Regions from separate parts of the Homo sapiens genome. Here all the other regions are linked to region 1. Evidence: promoter capture Hi-C in human tissues and cell types (Jung and others, 2019). All regions are on one chromosome and are shown on one strand. Each heading gives the region's core, a stretch centred on a gene start or on the middle of the fragment in contact. The rest is flanking DNA. Distances are from core to core; before and after follow the strand shown.

Evidence for each region. The method cuts DNA at HindIII sites, captures the fragments that hold promoters and counts their contacts. A contact is called where the count stands out against the background at its distance.
Region 2: the fragment with the promoter of DNASE1L2 here is called in contact with the fragment with the promoter of SRRM2 in region 1 in 3 of the 25 tissues and cell types used here (dorsolateral prefrontal cortex, hippocampus and spleen).
Region 3: a contact is called between a fragment that was not itself captured here and the fragment with the promoter of SRRM2 in region 1, in 3 of the 25 tissues and cell types used here (dorsolateral prefrontal cortex, lymphoblastoid cells and ovary).
Region 4: the fragment with the promoter of RAB26 here is called in contact with the fragment with the promoter of SRRM2 in region 1 in 1 of the 25 tissues and cell types used here (spleen).
Region 5: the fragment with the promoter of ZNF598 here is called in contact with the fragment with the promoter of SRRM2 in region 1 in 1 of the 25 tissues and cell types used here (lymphoblastoid cells).

Annotation. Positions count from the first base shown.
Region 1 is chr16:2,751,060-2,754,628 of GRCh38, reverse strand. It overlaps SRRM2 (serine/arginine repetitive matrix 2), which reads right to left and starts at 1,991. Exons shown (of 15, transcript NM_016333.4): 1 at 1,783-1,991. It overlaps SRRM2-AS1 (SRRM2 antisense RNA 1), which reads left to right and starts at 2,029. Exons shown (of 6, transcript NR_027275.1): 1 at 2,029-2,187. RefSeq lists enhancers at 583-1,425, 1,426-2,268, 2,150-2,439, 2,500-2,669, 2,269-3,111 and silencers at 1,580-1,639, 1,660-1,969. The HindIII fragment of the contact is 13,386 bases long and covers 1-3,569 here.
Region 2 is chr16:2,234,458-2,237,749 of GRCh38, reverse strand. It overlaps DNASE1L2 (deoxyribonuclease 1 like 2), which reads right to left and starts at 1,306. Exons shown (of 7, transcript NM_001374.3): 1 at 1,190-1,306; 2 at 790-972; 3 at 624-712; 4 at 449-532; 5 at 101-374. The coding sequence starts at 933. It overlaps E4F1 (E4F transcription factor 1), which reads right to left. Exons shown (of 14, transcript NM_004424.5): 11 at 2,969-3,167; 12 at 2,749-2,891; 13 at 2,607-2,669; 14 at 2,008-2,534. The coding sequence ends at 2,178. The HindIII fragment of the contact is 25,906 bases long and covers 1-3,292 here.
Region 3 is chr16:2,163,686-2,167,227 of GRCh38, reverse strand. It overlaps TRAF7 (TNF receptor associated factor 7), which reads right to left. Exons shown (of 21, transcript NM_032271.3): 2 at 3,227-3,345; 3 at 1,292-1,349. The coding sequence starts at 3,307. Among named protein-coding and RNA genes, the nearest start is that of TRAF7, 9.7 kb to the right of the region's middle. RefSeq lists enhancers at 1,301-2,073, 2,074-2,847, 3,257-3,542. The HindIII fragment of the contact is 6,093 bases long and covers 1-3,542 here.
Region 4 is chr16:2,146,604-2,149,900 of GRCh38, reverse strand. RAB26 (RAB26, member RAS oncogene family) reads right to left here and starts at 1,276. Exons shown (of 9, transcript NM_014353.5): 1 at 923-1,276. The coding sequence starts at 1,117. RefSeq lists enhancers at 1-69, 70-621, 622-1,173, 1,174-1,723, 1,724-2,275 and 1 more and silencers at 716-785, 806-935, 946-1,115, 1,206-1,295, 1,306-1,575 and 1 more. The HindIII fragment of the contact is 10,583 bases long and covers 1-2,008 here.
Region 5 is chr16:2,008,199-2,011,627 of GRCh38, reverse strand. It overlaps ZNF598 (zinc finger protein 598, E3 ubiquitin ligase), which reads left to right and starts at 1,807. Exons shown (of 14, transcript NM_178167.5): 1 at 1,807-1,890; 2 at 1,892-2,003; 3 at 2,005-2,104. The coding sequence starts at 1,881. It overlaps LOC124903626 (a long non-coding RNA gene), which reads right to left and starts at 1,743. Exons shown (of 2, transcript XR_007064941.1): 1 at 1,526-1,743; 2 at 1,040-1,320. RefSeq lists enhancers at 1,449-1,608, 1,133-2,081 and silencers at 1,689-1,908, 1,999-2,428, 2,439-2,508. The HindIII fragment of the contact is 21,988 bases long and covers 1-3,429 here.

The sequences.
Region 1 (3,569 bases), core at 742-3,241:
CACACAAAAATCCCCCCACTCCTTAAGAAAGGAAAACCAGGCCGGGTACGGTGGCTCACGCCTGTAACACCTGCACTTTGGGAGGCCGAGGTGGGCGGATCACCAGATCAGGAGATTGACACCAGCCTGGCCAACACGGTGAAACTCCATCTCTACCAAAAATACAAAAATTAGCTGGGCGGCGGCGATTGCCTGTAATCTCAGCAACTCCAGAGGCTGAAGCAGGAGAATCGCTTGAACCCGGGAGGCGGAAGGTTGCAGTGAGCCGAGATCGCGCCACTGCACTCCGGCCTGCCAACAGAGCTAGACTCCGTCTCGGAAAAAAAAAAAAAAGAAAAACCAGTAGGTGCTAAGCAAAGGATATTAGGTCACAATGTTTCGGAGAACTTTTAGGGAATGAGCCACCTAGTCCACCCCACAAAAAAAGACGACGACCCCACGGCATCTAAGGGGTGTGTTAAGACACAGAAAGTAGGAAGATCAACACCACACACAAATCACCAAACCAAACGATATTACAAAACTCTTAAAGTGGGGGCCATAGACAGTGGATATGCAAAAGTTACCCAAGTTAAAAGCAGAAAGTAAAAAGTACAAAGGAAGACAAAAACACCCTTTTCTGTTGGGAAATTATCCGAGTGGTAAGCTAACAATGAAGTAGAAAGATATATTTGAATTCAACAGTAAAATATGCAAAAAAGAAAACGGTACCAAAAGGGGAGAAAAAGGGGAGACAAGGGTTGTCGAAAAAAATGGACATCAGCAAGCACAGCCAGCTCAGCACCGGGGCGCTCCAGAGCGGCTGAGTGGACACAAAGAACCCAGAAAGCTAAAATAGTAGCTTTAGAAGAGCCCTAAGCCCACGCACTTAGGATGAAAGACAACACAACACTCTGAAATTCTGATCCAGATTCGTCCTAACTGAAGCCGAGTGGAAACCAAGCTTCAGAAGAGCTGTGTGCCAAAGAACGCCTGAAACCAACCAGAAAACTTATATATGAGTCTGGCGTTTTCTTCCCAACGAAGGTCTCCAAAAGCCTCCTTAGTTTGAACACGAATTCTCGGGAGACGTTGAAAAAGTGTAAAAAGGGAACGCACGGTCTACCTTACAAATGTAAACTGAACACGTTCACTTTCTTCACAGTTTTTAAGATTTGGGGTTTCTCCCCGCCACTAACAACTCAAAGGCTGATAGCCGGGAATCCTAAACCATTTAAATCCGGCCCACGAAGTTCAAGGCCCTCCCCGCAGCGCCGGGGGCCTATTTTCGGCCTTGCGGAATGGGGGAGGGGGCTGCGCGGCGTCCCGCAGTCTGGGAGGCCCCCGACACGGGCAGCCCAACGCCGAAGAGAAGCCCGAGGAAAGGAGATCTGGAACCGGGGGCAAGGGTCCAGGAGCAAGCCCCCCGCCGCCGCCCCTTCCCCGCCACTTAAGGGCCGAAAACGGCAGCTGCAGGAAGGCCACCTCGGCGGCACATGTTGGGGGGAGGAGTGAAGCCGAGGCGCGCGCCCTCCCCCCTCACCAAGGGCGCTCGCGAACCCGAGTACAGGCGGCTGCGAACGCCGTTGTCATGGGGGAGGGGCGGGGGGGGGTGAAGCCCGCGCGCGACAGGAACGGCGGGAAGGGGGAAGGGAGGCGAGGGCGTCCGCGCCAGCGAAGGGCGTCGAGCGCGCGTGCGCGCGGAGGAGCTCGGCGGCCTGGGCAGTTCTCCGCGCGCTTTGGCCTCGCGCCGGGGCCGCCGCCCCTCCCCCACCCGGCTCGCTGGCTCCCTCACCCTCTCACCCGCCGCCTCCGCCCGCCGCCTCCGAGGGGGAGAGGTCTTGCCGCCGCCGCTGCTCGAGCTCCCGAGTCCCTCGGGCCTGGGGCCGCCGCCTCGCCTCGCCGGTCCGCCCGCCTCAGCCGACGCCGACGCCTCCTCGCTTCCTCAGGGGCCGCAACGGGCTCCAACTGCGCCACTCGCACCCCGCCTGGGCCGCGCTGCACGTCAGCACGACTAACTGCGTGCGTCAGCACGCAAACGCGCGTCGCGGGGCCTGCCGGGAACTGGAGTGCGCCCCGCGGCCTTTTGCGCAGGCGCCGAAGCCACACCGCGAAGTACCGTTTTTTCAGGCACAAGGAAGGTTTCACCCCGTTGCCGAAAGACTAAGCGTCCCGTTGGCCAGTGCAACGAAGAACGGAGGAAGCGACGTAAGACACCGCGTATTCGTAGGCCTTCCGCTGCGGGGAGGAGCACAGGGCCTAGCGGCAGCAAAGCGACGCCCGAGCGCGTCTCGTCTCCCGCTGTCGATGCAGAGCATTCTGGGAGTTGTGGTTCGGGCGTGTCGCGGAGCCCGGATGTAATTTCGGCTCGGGGCGTGGCGGCCATTTTGTCTCCCCATGTTGGGAGACGATATCCCAGCCGCGGTGGTGCTGCCGCTTTCGTGTGACTTTGGGTTTCCCGAGCGAGCCCGCAGCTGCACAGCAGTCCGCCTTCCCGTACCCGAGAGAAGCCGCCTCAGACCCCAGCCAGCGGGCACCCCCGGAGGCCCCGAGCCTGGCTGCAGGCCCTAGACCTGCACCAGGGGCCCAACCAGTTACCCGTAGCATGGGCCACGTTCTCCCGCTGTAGACCGGGCTGAGGCCCGACGGCCACCCCTGGGGGAGGAGTTTTCTTAGCTTCCGGTAGGGCAGCCAGGCCGGGGTCCCACCAGACCCAGGACGTGATACCGGTGAAGCGGCACATACAGGAACAAGGCAGGAGGAAAATAATAAGCACCTTAAAGTTTCCACTTTTCGGTACCGTACTTCCTGTTAATGTTTCTAAGCCCGTGATTCTGGGCCTGATAATCAGCCAGCCGTCCTCACAGCAGAGTTGTAAGACGCTGGGCTGCTCAAGCACAAGTTCATATCTAGACCCACCGCTGGCGAGCAGCCCTGGACGTCCCGCTTAGCTGTCCTAACCAACTCAGGTGGCCTTGATCCGCAACAGGACGCGGTACCACGTAATGAACTGTCCATTTGAGTGCAAGGATTTATATTTGTTATTACGATTTGGGGGTGTTTTTAAGAGGCAGGGTTTTGCCCAGGCTGTTCTCGAATTTGGGGCTCAAGCGATCCTCCGACCTCAGCCTCCCAAGTAGCTGGGACTACCCGTGCATGACACCCTATCTGGCCCTTGTTTTTTGTTGTTGTTGTTGTTCTTTCTTTTTTCACGTGGTTTCGCACTTGTCACCCAGGCTGGAGTGCAATGGTGTGTTGTCGGCTCACTGCAACCTGTCTCTCAGGTTGAAGTGATTCTCGTGTCTCAGTCTTCCGAGTAGCTGGGATTACAGGCGTGTGCCACCACGCCTGGCTAATTTTTGTATTTTTAGTAAAGACGGGGCTTCACTATATTGGTCAGGCTGGTCTCGATTTCCTGACCTCAGGTGATCTGCCCACCTCAGCCTCCCAAAGTGCTGATATTACAGGCGTGAGCCACCACGCCCGGCCCGTATCCGGCTTTAAGATTTGTTTTTCACTTGCCCGTGGGAGGATGTACTTATCTCAGATGCTAGAGCCGGGAGACCCTCCCCCCCACCACCCCCATCTCC
Region 2 (3,292 bases), core at 57-2,556, 520 kb after region 1:
CCGTGTCTGAGCCGCCGCAGGAGCCGTCGAGGTCCCGCCCTCATGAACCAGACCCCCGGGGCGCGCCTGCAGGGACCCCGGGACCGAGGGGTGGGCTTACGTCGGTGCCCCACTTGTCGATCACGTCCAGGTACACGTCGTAGAGCGCGTCGATCTCCGCCACGGCTTGATGCGGCGCCGCGTGCAGCGGGATCAGCACCAGGTTCTGTGCTGCTGCGGGAAGGGGTGGGGGCGTCAGAGCTCGGCGGGAGGGGAGGGGCGGGGCCCGCTCACCGGTGCCGGGGGCCGAGAACTTGACCACGAAGGGCTCGCGGCTGAAGACGTCCTCGGGGTCTGGGTACAGGTAGGTGTCCACGACCGACACCGCGTCTTTCCTAGGAGATGGGGAGGACCCGCTGAGCCCCCGACCTGCGGCCCCGCGCGCCCCTCCCTGCGGCCCGCCCCTCACCTGTACACGAACAGGTACATCTCCTTGTACTGGTCCCGGCCCAGGGGCTGGCTGCTCACAAAGCTGTACTCGTGCTCGGACACGCTGCGGAGACAGGGGCCCGCTCAGGGTCGGGGCGCCGCGCCGGGGCGAGATCCCGGCGGGGGGTCGCGACGAGGGGCCCTGCCCACCACACCTGTTGATCTGCTCCATGAGCGCGGACACGGCGCTGAGGTCTGGGTCTCGCACCTCCTGCACCAGCGCGAGGTCATAGCCAGCCAGGATCTGGGGAGGAGCGGCGGGTGCGGGGGTCAGCGCGGTCAGCACCCCTAAACGCCGCCCCGCCCCGGCCCGGGCCCCACCTTCGCGATGATGCTGCCGCAAGCGGGGTCCGACACTTTGCTGTCACCGAAGCTCTGAATGTTGAAGGCTCCGATGCGAAGCGCGGCGGTCCCGGCGGCTTCCAGCGCCCAGAGTGCGGCCAGCAGAGCCCGGGGCCCGCCCATGGCGCGGAGCGAGAGGCTGGGAGGGACAGACGCTGCCGCCTACGCAGACCCGCTGTCAGACCCACCGACCCACCCCTTCCCTCCGCGGCCGCCCCTTGACGGCCAGTGCGACGCGGAATCCGCCCCTGCGTTCTGCAGGCTCCCAGGGCACTGCTGGGCTCTCAGGGACCGCTGCCTTCTCACTGCGCGGGAAGCTGCAGCCGGAATGGAGGGTCCGGCCCATCCAGCCCCAGCTCAGGGCAGCCGAGAGACTCACCTTGGATGTGGGTGCAGAGGCCCGAGGCTCAGAGATCCTAGGGGGATGGGGATCCCGGGTCCAGGCTGCGGGCGTGTCCGACACAGGACTGCACTGACTCCCTCTGGCAGTAGCTCTGGCACCAAGGCAGGGGCCGGTATTTGAGGTCCTGGGCCAGGGAGGGGCCGGGCTGCACTGGGTCCCGCCCCCTCGACTCAGCTGGGTGCCTGATGAACTCCTGGCTTTCATTCCCATGGAGACCCCCAGGGTAAGGGGTGGGAGACCTGCCTGAGCCGGTTCTGGTGCCCCAGACCTGTCCCAAAACCGTCCCAGAAGCCCCTGCCAGCCCCCTAGGAGGGAGGTAGACGGTCAGCCACATCCCGGTGCGGCTGTGTTCTTGTCCTCGCCCCTAGAAATTAGGTCGCCTAGACTCTGCCTCCCTGAGCAGAATCCCTTCAGGGAAAGCAAGGCAGCGCAGGTAGGACCAGCCACACTCCCTACCCAGCATCTCCTGCTGCTGCTCCACCTGCTCACCCTGCGGTGGAGGCCGAGGCTCCCAGATCTCCCTGTCCCCGTCCCTGGTCCTCCCACCCACCCACAGGCCTCAGGCAGCGCAGCTGGGGGCACAGCTCCAGCTGGGCAGGGCAGGAGGCTGTTGGTCAACATGCCAATGACACCCACACAGCACCAAGGCGCCGCCAGGGCTGGCAGAAGCCCCTGGGTGGGGCGGCCAGGCACGTGAGTCTAGGAGTGGCCTGGGAGGCAGGTGCTGCTGCGGGGGCCTGGGCAAAGGTGGTGGCACCAGCCGCGGAGGCTGCCACTGCCACAACATCACAAGCTGCAGGTTCTCATGTTTTATTGTAAAGCAACAAGAAACTCTTATGTACACTGTCCGTCTTGGGGCGCCTCCATCCTGTGCCATCTTCTCTACCAGGCCAGGCAGGCATGGGTGGGGCGCTCAGAGTCCTCTGCCCTGTCCCTGCCCGGCCAGGACCCCGCAGACCTCATGCTAGACGATGACCGTCTGCACCTCCAGCTGGCCCTCCGGCGAGGCGATGACCAGCTCGCCTGCATGCTCCAGGATCTCGATGTCCTCTGATGACACCATGGTCACAGTGGCCTGTTCAGTGCCACTTGTCCCTGCCCGGGCGGCAAGCACAGTGCCCTCGCTGATGGCCGAGGCCAGCGTCATGGCCACCTGCTCTGTCAGGCTCTCGGGGGTGGCGATGGTGATGGTGTCGGCGGCAGCCGCCTCTGGGCCCAGCGCCGTCTCCTCGTCCATGGTGACGTTCTGCACGATGATCTGGTGGCCGGCGCTAGCCTGGTGCACGATCTGCTGCACCACCTTCATGATGTGGCTGTCCACCTGCAGGGCCACGGCTCAGCAAGAGCGGCTGTGCCAGGGAGCCTCCCCGCCCCCGCCTGCCCTACCCCTCACCTCTGTCTGGGTGCCCTCGATGATCTCCGTGGCCTCACTGGTCTCCGCATCGTCCGCAGTGGCCTGGGCAGATGGGCAGAAGGACAGAGGTCAGCCTTGGCTGCCCCTGGGTCCCAGCACGGCCCCAGGGCCCCACACCCACCTCGATGATATACTCCTGGGTGTCAGCTACCACGGACGAGAACTCCACCAACACTGTGTGCGGGTCTTCCGTGAGGACGGTGGTGGCTGCCGCGGGGCTGTCCTCAGACACCAGCAACTCCTCCACCTCCAGCAGGCAGCCCCCTGTGGGTGGGGACTCGGTCAGGGCTAGGCAAGCCCCGGCCCCCTCCCCTCCCCCTCCCACCTCCACCGGCCCAGACCTTTGGTGCGCAGGTGCCGGTTCAGCGTGCCGTGCTCGGCGAAGCCACGGCCGCACTTGTAGCACTTGAACGGCTTCTCGCCTGTGTGGTGTCGCACGTGCCGCACCAGTGAGCCCTTCTCTCGGAAGCCACGGCTGCAGAACTGGCACACGTGCGGCTTCTCCTCCAGGTGTGTCCTGAAGTGCACCTGCTGTGCGTTCTGTGGAGACACCTGTCAGTGCCAGCCTGGCCTTGGCCACAACAGACTACAGCTCTCCCCTCCCGCCTGTGGCCCAAGGGAGGGGCTGGGTCAAGACTGAGCATGGTGGAGGCAGGGAAGGGGGT
Region 3 (3,542 bases), core at 812-3,311, 590 kb after region 1:
CTGCCGCCGAGGGGCCAGGCATAGCAGCCGTGCCCTGCCCCATCATGGGTACCTTCCGCCGTGTGACAGGGGCCATGGGGCTTCTAAGGGTAGATGAAAAGGCACCGTTTTTTGGGGGGTAGGATTAGAAAAAAAAAGAGGGCCCCTGGAGAGCCCCTGAGGGGATCACCAGCAGCAAAGAGGCGCTACTGTAAGCAGGTGTCCTTGGCGGCCCTATGACCCCATGGCCAGGTTTATCAGAGCAATTAAAAAGCTAATTAGCAGCCAGTGTGCTTCTACAAAGGGCAGAGTGCCAGAAAGGAGAGAGAACAAAGTCACCCCAGAACCCCACCCCGGAATGAGGGTCCCTGGCCCTGCACCTCGGGAAGAAGGCACTGCCACTTCCGCATGGTCTCCCTGAGCACGGCGCTTGCGTTCAAAGCGCAGCACTCTGGTTTTTAGGGGATAGGACTGAGAAGCAGCAGGGAAGCTTCAGGTTTCTGTCGTGTATCCCGCCCAGTGGTCTTGTGCAGGTGAAGATTTATTGGGCTTGGCTTGCTGGCTCATGCCTGTAATTCCAGCACTTTGGGAGGCCAAGGCAGGAGGATCACGTGAGCCCAGGAATTTGAGACCATCCTGGGCAACATGGTGAGACCTCATCTCTACCAAACATAAAAAAAATTAGCCAGGTGTGGTGGTGCCTGTGGTCCCAGCTACCTGGGAGGCTGAGGTGGCAGGACTGATCCCAGGAGGCACAGGTTGCAGTGAGCCAAGATTGCGCCACTGCATTCCAGCTTGGGTGACAGAGTGACACCCGTCTCAAAAAAACAAACCAGACTTATGGATCTCTTCCACTCTCCCTCCCTTCCTATTAACATGTCACAACTGCAGCACTGTTACTGAAGCCCTAGGGCCAAACTCAAGAGAAGACCTCCGGGCACACGGGACCTTTCGGAGGCTGGCCAGGAGCCTGAGACTGGGGACAAGCTGGGGATCACTGTGACAAGGGACAGGGCTGTGTGGTGGTGCTGGAGATGTCAGGGCAAGCCTCCCTAGAGGGGATGAAGAGGGCAGGGAGAGAGGGCACAGCACAGTCACCGAGGCACAAGGAGCAGGACACCCGACTCCTGTCCAGTGGGGAGGCCCAGGGCTGAGAGGCTGTGAGGACACAGGCTGCGGTGTGAGGCTGCCCGCGCCCAGCACTGGCACCCAACACCAGCTCACCGGGAAGTGTCCCTCAGTCCTTAGCAGGGTGGGCATGGGGGTGCCCCGGTTATTCCCAGCCTGGGCTGGCCTTGGCTTAAGGGCTCACCTTTTGTGATGGTGGTGACGGCTGAAAAGGCGGGTCCGAAGGTCGTTTCCATTCTGGTCTAGAGGGAGGACGGAGGAGACCTGGCCTCATTCCGGGACACAAGGAGGACGTGCACATGTGGAGCCCACTCACATGCCTAACACGCGACCAGGCCAGGCCACGCAGCACTCACACACTTAACCATGCGACCAGGCCACGCCACGCAGCACTCACACGCTTAATCATGCGACCAGGCCGCGCCACGCAGCGCTAACACGCTTAACCATGCGACCAGGCCAGGCCACGCAGCACTCACACGCTTAACCATGCGACCAGGCTGCGCCACACAGCACTCACACGCTTAACCATGCGACCAGGCCAGGCCACGCAGCACTAACACGCTAAACCATGCGACCAGGCCAGGCCACGCAGCACTCACACGTTTAACCATGCGACCAGGCTGCGCCACACAGCACTCACACGCTTAACCATGCGACCAGGCCAGGCCACGCAGCACTAACACGCTTAACCATGCGACCAGGCCAGGCCACGCAGCACTCACACGCTTAACCATGCGACCAGGCCGCGCCACGCAGCACTCACACGCTTAACCATGCGACCAGGCCGCGCCACACAGCACTCACACACTTAACCATGCGACCAGGCCGCGCCACGCAGCACTAACACGCTTAACCATGCGACCAGGCCGCGCCACGTAGCACTAACACGCTTAACCATGCGACCAGGCCAGGCCATGCAGCACTCACACGCTTAACCATGCGACCAGGCCAGGCCACGCAGCACTCACACGCTTCAGCATGCGACCAGGCCAGGCCACGCAGCACTCACACGCTTAACCATGCGACCAGGCCAGGCCATGCAGCACTCACACGCTTCAGCATGCGACCAGGCCAGGCCATGCAGCACTCACACGCTTAACCATGCGACCAGGCCAGGCCACGCAGCACTCACACGCTTAACCATGCGACCAGGCTGCGCCACACAGCACTCACACGCTTAACCATGCGACCAGGCCAGGCCACGCAGCACTAACACGCTTAACCATGCGACCAGGCCAGGCCACGCAGCACTCACACGCTTAACCATGCGACCAGGCTGCGCCACACAGCACTCACACGCTTAACCATGCGACCAGGCCAGGCCACGCAGCACTAACACGCTTAACCATGCGACCAGGCCAGGCCACGCAGCACTCACACGCTTAACCATGCGACCAGGCCGCGCCACGCAGCACTCACACGCTTAACCATGCAACCAGGCCGCGCCACACAGCACTCACACGCTTAACCATGCGACCAGGCCGCGCCACGCAGCACTAACACGCTTAACCATGCGACCAGGCCGCGCCACGTAGCACTAACATGCTTAACCATGCGACCAGGCCAGGCCACGCAGCACTCACACGCTTAACCATGCGACCAGGCCAGGCCACGTAGCACTCACACGCTTAACCATGCGACCAGGCCAGGCCACGCAGCACTAACACGCTTAACCATGCGACCAGGCCAGGCCACGCAGCACTCACACGCTTAACCATGCGACCAGGCCGCACCACGCAGCACTAACACGCTTAACCATGCAACCAGGCCGCGCCACGCAGCACTAACACGCTTTACCATGCGACCAGGCCAGGTCACGCAGCACTCACACGCTTAACCATGCGACCAGGCCGCGCCACGCAGCACTCACACGCTTAACCATGCAACCAGGCCGCGCCACACAGCACTAACACGCCCCAACCACACACGCACGCGTGCGCGCGCGCGCGCGCGCGCGCACACACACACACACACACACCACACCCCCCCCCACCGAGCTCCCCTGAGACCCCAGCTCGGGACGGGACTGCGCTGGGAGCTCTGCAGGCAACACCAGATCCCTGGGGCATGCTGGGGGTCCTGGGGATGTTGGGCTTGCAGAGGGGCACACCCTTACCCCTGTGGTGACGTCTGGGGTGGGAAGATTGCTGGGCCCCCCGGAGAAGCGGTTGTAGCGGGCACTCTTGCCTGAGCTCATGCTCTAGAGAGGCATCTACGGTCCTTGGGAAGCACCTCCTGTGGGTGGAGCACAAATGAGGGGCTTGAGAGATGGAGCCCAGGCCCCTGTGAGTCAGACGGGCTGCTGCAAGTGTGCAGACCTGCTGTGGGGCACCGTGGGGCCGCCGCAGCAGCCTTCCACCACCAGCCCCGGCTCAGGCAGGCCTCTAGGAGGCAAAGGTCCTTCACCCCGATCCCAGGTATGCAGAGGCCCG
Region 4 (3,297 bases), core at 27-2,526, 600 kb after region 1:
TGAGCTGGCCTGGTCAGAAGGGGGCTGCAGGTGAGGAGCAGGAGTGGAGGGAGGCAGCCCAGGCCTGCAGGCTCAGCGGGGCCAGGGACCCCGATGGGCTGGACACCCAGCGTATGCCTCTGAAAGGCTGGGGCTGCTCTGTCCTTCTGCACAGTGGCCGTCTCAGTCAGCGGGGAGTGAGGGCAGCCACCTGCATCCCGGACCCTCCCTAACGTCCATACCCCCACACGGTGGACAGCATCTGGGAGGGGAGCAGGTGGGGTGGCAGCTGGGTACCTCCTAAGAGACTTGGGGAGGCCTCTGCCGGGGGCTTCTCCACATCCCAGTAGGGACATGACCCCAGCAAGGCTCGAGGAATTTGCCCCATTAGGATCAGATCTCGATCTGAAGAGGGACCTGGGCCAAGTCTGAGGTTGGGGGGAGGTGCAAGTGGGCAGCAGTCAGGCCTTCTCCCCGAAACCTGTGCTACCAAACCCAAAATGGTCCTCCCAGCCCCCTGCCAAGTCCACACAGCCTCTGCCTTGGTCTGGAGTCCCAGGGTTCCCCATCCATCTGGCAAACCTCTTCCCCCCAGCAAAAAAAAAAAAAAAAAAAAAAGGCCCACAGCCGCTGGGTTGAGGGAGGGCAGCATACGGGAAATGGTGAGACCCCGGGCGGGGGCCAGGGCACTGGGGCGCGGGACCCCTTGTGCCACCATGCCGCCTGGGGGGTGGGGGACAGGCCCTGCCAGCTGTTGGATACCCCAGACCTGGGATGGACAGCTGTGTGTGCACGATGCACCGTGCAAGCCCCACGGGGTTCCTCCCGCGTCGGCTCCGCGCCCTGGGGCCGCGGGCCCTGCACCCCCTGTCCGACCCCCAACCCTTGGCTCAGGCCGGGCGCCACCTGCTGCGCTGGCCTGGGGGGCGGGTGCCTGGCTCACCTTGAAGGCGACGTCGTAGAAGTCGACACCGCCGCCAAGCGAGGGCCGGCCGGGCTGCAAGGGCCCGTTGGGCGGCGCGTCGGGGCCGGAAAGCGCAGTCCCGGAGCGCGCCGGTCGGGCCCCGTTGGCGGTGGGCAGCGTGGAGGCAGCGGGGGTGCTGGCCCCTTTGCTCTTGGGGGTCTTCTTCCTGGACATGGCGGGCGGGCGCTCAGTGTGCTCCCGCTGCAGCCGCCGTGCCCTGGGCCGTCCCGCACCCCGCGCCCGCCGAGCCCGACCCGGACCCGAACCCTTCCCCTGGCGGCGGCGGCGGCGGCGGCGGCGGCGGCGGCATCATCCCGGGCGCCCGGCTCGCGCCCCGCCCCCGCCGCTCCACGGGCGCGCAGCCACTCAGGCCCGGCCTCCCGCCGCCGCCGCCAATGCCGTGCGTGGGGCGGGGACATGCAAATACACCCCCGCTCGGCGGGGGGTGGGGGGCGGTCAGGAGGTCCGGGCCCCGTCCCGCCCCCGATCACGACCCCTGCCCGTGGCTGCCTTGGGGCCAGGAGCCAGCTGTGGGGTGACAGGCCTGGGCCAGGAGTCACCCCGGGATCCTGAATCCCCTCTGCTGGCTGCACACCACCCCAGCTCGGTGACCCCCAAACTGGACCGCCAGACCTGGGAGGAAGGGGTGTCCTGAGATGTGGGTGCTGGGGCAGAGGGCCCGCATGGACGGGCACCGCGGGCTTCTGTCTCCTTAGCCCCAGATGCCTAGCGCTTGGCCCGGTGCCCTTCACTGCTCCATCCCCTCCAGGGTAGGCGGGTCCAGGAAGCTCCAGCCCTGGCTTGGCAAACACACCAGGCTGCTGGGGCAGGCGCCCTGGGCTCAGGTGACAGCTGGTCACCGGGAGGACACAGCGGGCGCTGCGATCTCCCCCACAGCTTCTGCCTGCTGTGCACGCCTGGGGATCTGCGGGAAGGAGGAAGTCGCTGTGGCAGCCAGCCCCCGGCCCCCTGAGGGTCCCCTCCCACGGGACTCTGCCCTCAGGGTCTGAAAGGTGGAAAGCAGAGGCCCCTGCCCAGGCTGTGTGGCTGGCCCCTTGTCCTTCTCCTCCAGGTTCGGACCTTCAGGTGGCCAGGGCCGATTCTCCAAATCCTAAGCTGGTCCCTGGCAGACCCACCTCCCCAACCTGGGCTGCACTGGAGCTCTGTCACCCCCTCTCACAGAGAAGATGGGACTGCAGTGGTCAGAGCTGGGGCACAGTGGTCCAGAGGGGTGGTGTCCTTGGCATGCAGGGGCTTCTTGGTGTTTCTTTGGGAGCTGGAGAGATGACCCAGCTGTCCCCGGAGACCTGACAGCTGTCACCAGGACCTTGGGCCCTTCAGAGACCTGAGCCCTCCCAGCTGGCAGTGCCCAGAGTCCAAACAATTGGCTGCCTCTCGGGTCAGAGGCCTGAGAAAACACAGATGGGGGGCACTGCCCAGCAGAGTGATTCCTCGAGAGGGCCTGGCAGAGGCCGTGGAAGCCTGCCCTACAGCAAGCACTGTTGTGTGCCAGGCACACGACCTCTTCAAAGTTATCCTGCAAGGTGGGTACTGCCCTCAGTGTCCAGATGGGGAAACCGAGGCCCAGAAAGGCAAGGAGCCTGTGCAAGGTCAGCAGGCTAGGAAGGGCAGAGCTAGGATTTGTTCCTGTGATCTCCAGCTCCAGAGAACATAAACCGTCCCATGGCAGAAATCCCTGTAGACTTAATCCCCAGGAACCTGGCAGAGCTGGGGGTCAAACCCGGAAGCCCTCTCAGAACCCTTCCTTGTCTCACTCCTCTGGCCCCCCAGCTCTTCCAGACCAACCCCCAGTGTGTGTGCACTGGGCCTGGGTAGAGGCATTTAGCTTCTGCAGCTGCAGCCCTGGGGACTCCAGGTGTCCACCCGCGCTACAAGGCCTCTTTCAGGATGGCTGGCCCAGGGTCTGAGCTGGGGGCCTCAGCAGCTGCTGTGCACTGGCCCCAGGGTCCTGGGCAGTGGACTCCCAGTCCAGTGGACCCCGTCCTGCCAGCTGCTGCTCAGGTACCCCCAGGGCGCGGGCAGCAGGAGGAGTTGGGTGCAAGTAGGGCATCCTGCAGGGGGAGGAGTGCGGATGGGGCCCCCAGGAAGAGAAGGAGGCAGGCGCGCTGGAGAAAGTGGGAGGCCAGGCGGGGAGGGGAGCCTTGAGAGAGCAGAGGAAACGGGCTTGCGCTGGCAACCTTTAAAATTAGGAGAGTTTACATAAAAATCCAAGTCTCTGGTTTCTCTTGAAAATGGGGAGCTCTGGGTGCCTGCATCACAGACCCCTCTCTTGGCTTCCAGCAGGCCTCGGAATCTTTGATCATTATGTCTCTTGGTTGCTGTGTTTGCCATCT
Region 5 (3,429 bases), core at 558-3,057, 740 kb after region 1:
TTTTGAGATGGAGTCTCACTCTGTGGCCCAGGTTGGAGTGCAGGGGCGCAATCTCTGCTCATTGAAACCTCTGCCTCCTGGGATCAAGCGTTTCTCGTGCCTCAGCCTCCCGAGAAGCTGTGACTACAGGCGCATGTCACCACGCCCCGTTAATTTTTGTGTGTTTTGGCCAGGCACAGTGGCTCATGCCTGTAATCCCAGCACTTTGGGAGGCCAAGGCAGGTGGATCAAGAGGTCAGGAGATCGAGACCATCCTGGCGAACATGGTGAAATCCTGTCTCTACTAAAAATAAAAAAAAAAAATTAGCAGGGCGTGGTGGCGGGTGCCTGTAGTCCCAGCTACTCAGGAGGCTGAGGCAGGAGAATGGCGTGAACCCGGGAGGCGGAGCTTGCAGTGAGCCGAGATCACGCCACTGCACTCTAGTCGTGTGTGTTTTTTTTTTTTTTTTTGAGATGGAGTCTCGCTCTGTTGCCAAGGCTGGAGTGCAGTGGCGTGATTGTCGTGATCTCGGCTCACTGCAACCTCTGCCTCACGGTTTCAAGAGATTCTACTGCCTCAGGCTGCCGAGTAGCTGGGACTACAGGCACATGTCACCACGCCCGGCTAATTTTTGTATTTTTAGTAGAGATGGGGTTTCACCATTTTGGTCAGGCTTGTCTCCAATTCCTGACCTCAGGTGATCCCAACCTCCCAAAGTGCTGGGATTACAGGCGTGAGCCACCACGCCCGGCCTAAAAATTTTTTTTGTGGAGATGGAGCCTGACTGTGTAGGCCAGGCTGGTCTCAAATTCCCAGGCTCCAGCAATCCGGGCCACCCAGCCTCCCAAACTGCTGGGATTACAGGCTTGAGCCACTGTGCCTGACAGCTTTTTTCAAGTGGCAAAATTGGGGTTTCAAGCCCATTTGTGTCTGTTTCTAAAGTCCAAGTTCACTGGGCATGGATCACTTGAGCCCAGGAGGTTGAGGCCTCAGTGTGCTGTGATCGTACCACTGTGTTACAGCAAGAGCAAGACCCGGTCTCAAATAAAGTAAGTAAAGTTCAGGCTCATTGATACAATTTACTGCCTCTTTTCCAGTAGGGTTTAGATCTGGACCTGCCTTCTGGATGGCAGAGGGAGGGAGGTCCTGAGTGTGCCTGGCCCTCAAGGGTAGGGAGGAGGCCCTGTTACTGCAGCATCCATCCAAACACGTCCTGTGCTGGGCCCAGCGTAAAGAGGACAGGTTCCGTTCGTGCCTTCCAGAGGCCCCTTCTGGGCAGGCCTGGCGAGACTGCCCTGGGCTGCGAGATGGACGTCACCACGTGCTGCCTTTCACGTTGTCTTTCATGTAGGGATTTAAACAGGGCATTAGGGAAGTGGAGGCGGGACCACGCTTGTGTGTGTTCCAAATACCAGAGACCGGTTTCCTAATAAGGTGGCCAGATTTAGCAAATACAAATACGGCAGGTCCACTTAAATGTCAATTTCAGATAAGGAGCAGCATTTTAGTATGAGCCTAGCCCATCAATATTTGGGCTATACTTACACTAAGACATGACCCCTTGTTCATCTGAGATGCAAACCAGTTGTGCCGTGTTTCATCTGACAACGCCAGTTCGTGGAGCCCGGCGAGTGTTGACGTGACACGCGTGGCCCAGAGGAGCCCGGGGCTGGCCGCGTGGCCGCGCGGACCTTCGAGCGGTCGGCTCATGGTAGAGCGGCCTCTATCAGGGCCACCGCTCTAGCCGGCGCCGCGCTGAGGCGGAAGTCGCGACGCGCACTTGCGCCGGGCGGGCCCGTTGCTGGGTGGGGCGGTGACGTTTGCCCGGAAGGGGCGGGCCCGCCGGGAGCCAGGCCGCTCGGCGCCACGACCGGCCGAGAGGGGGGCCGGATCCCGGACCATGGCGGCGGCCGGGGGGCGCCGAGGGGCGGCGCGCGGACATGGAGGCGGAGGCGGCGGCAGCTCCTGAGCGGGGAGGCGGGAGCTGCGTGCTGTGCTGCGGAGACCTGGAGGCCACGGCGCTGGGGCCGCTGCGACCACCCGGTGTGCTACCGCTGCTCTACCAAGATGCGGGTGCTCTGCGAGCAGCGCTACTGCGCCGTGTGCCGCGAGGAGCTGCGCCAGGTGCGGGGCGCCGGGGGCGCGGCCCGGGGGCAGCGGGGCTCCCGGCGACCGGATGGGGACTTTGCCTCACTGAGGTCCGGCCGTGGGCCCGGCGGCGCCGGCTTCCGAGAGAGGCCTGGTGGGGCCACCCAGGGCGGGGTCCCGGCCGTGCGGCTGACGGCGGGGCGTTGGGGCTTGGAGGCCGGAGGCGGCCGAGCGGGTTGCAGGAGGGGGCAAGCCCTGTGGGGACAGCCTGGGGACTTCCCCCGTGTCCCGGGGGTTCCTGCCGGGCCTCAGGAAGGGTCCTGATCAGATGGAGAACTCGGTGACCTGCTCGTCTTCAGGAGTTTATTTTCCAGGGTCCTCCATTCGAGGAAACAAGGCAAGGGGGACTCTGCGGAGGCCATCCGTCCTGGAAGCAGGGCGTCAAACTCTGGGCATTCTCAGCCCAGCTGTGTTTCTGGGCCCCCATTGGATGACCCTGAGCAAACTCCTTCCGAGACTGACGTTTTCCTCTGTGGAGTGGAGGTGACACTAGCCTCGGAAGGAGACCTGCCCGTCGGAGGGGAAGGCCCCCTCGCGCTTCTTGGCGGGAAGGGAGAAAAGTGTTAGGAAGTTGTCCTCCTCCTCGCCGCCGCCCCCCGCCTTTGGCGCTCATCTCCGCAGTGAATGGGAGACGTTTTTGACTGTACAGACTTGGAAGCCGTGGAGGGGTCAGAGGGTACCATGCAGCGTTCCTCCACCCTCACTGCACTGCCAGCTGCTGGCTGTGGGCACCTGGCTGGAGCCCGTTGGTTTGCTGAGCTTAGAGATTTGTTTGCTTCCAGCATTGTGAAATTCCCCCGGTTTGTTCATAGAAGGCTTCGGCTGGTGACATCTGCCAGGAATCTAACTTTCTTCTCCCCAGAAGTGATGCAGAGCAGTATTGAGGTGTAGGTTCTTTCTTTTTTTCCTTTTCTTTCTTTAAGTAGACGTTTACATCAAAGGAGTTGAAGAGATGCTGCAATTCTCTGAGCAATTTGTGGGCTTATAGTCTGTGCCCTTTTTGGAAAAAGACATTTGGAGATTCTATCAGTCTGTCATGTGACAGGAGGAGGCCGACCCAGACCCCGGGGAGATCTGGGGTGCAGGAACAGTCACAGAGGACCTTGGCCCGTGGCTTCCTCAGGGCGCTTCCTGGCTTTGCCAGGGCCTGCCTTGCCAGCCAGTCCTGCATAGCATGACCTCACTCTCCAACAGCTAGGTTTCCCAGCACACCTGTAGCTTCCTTCCGGAAAGAAGACGCTAAGGAGTTCTTGGCACGTGAGGTCCCGACCCAGGCTGCAGGTCTGATGCAAGACATGAGT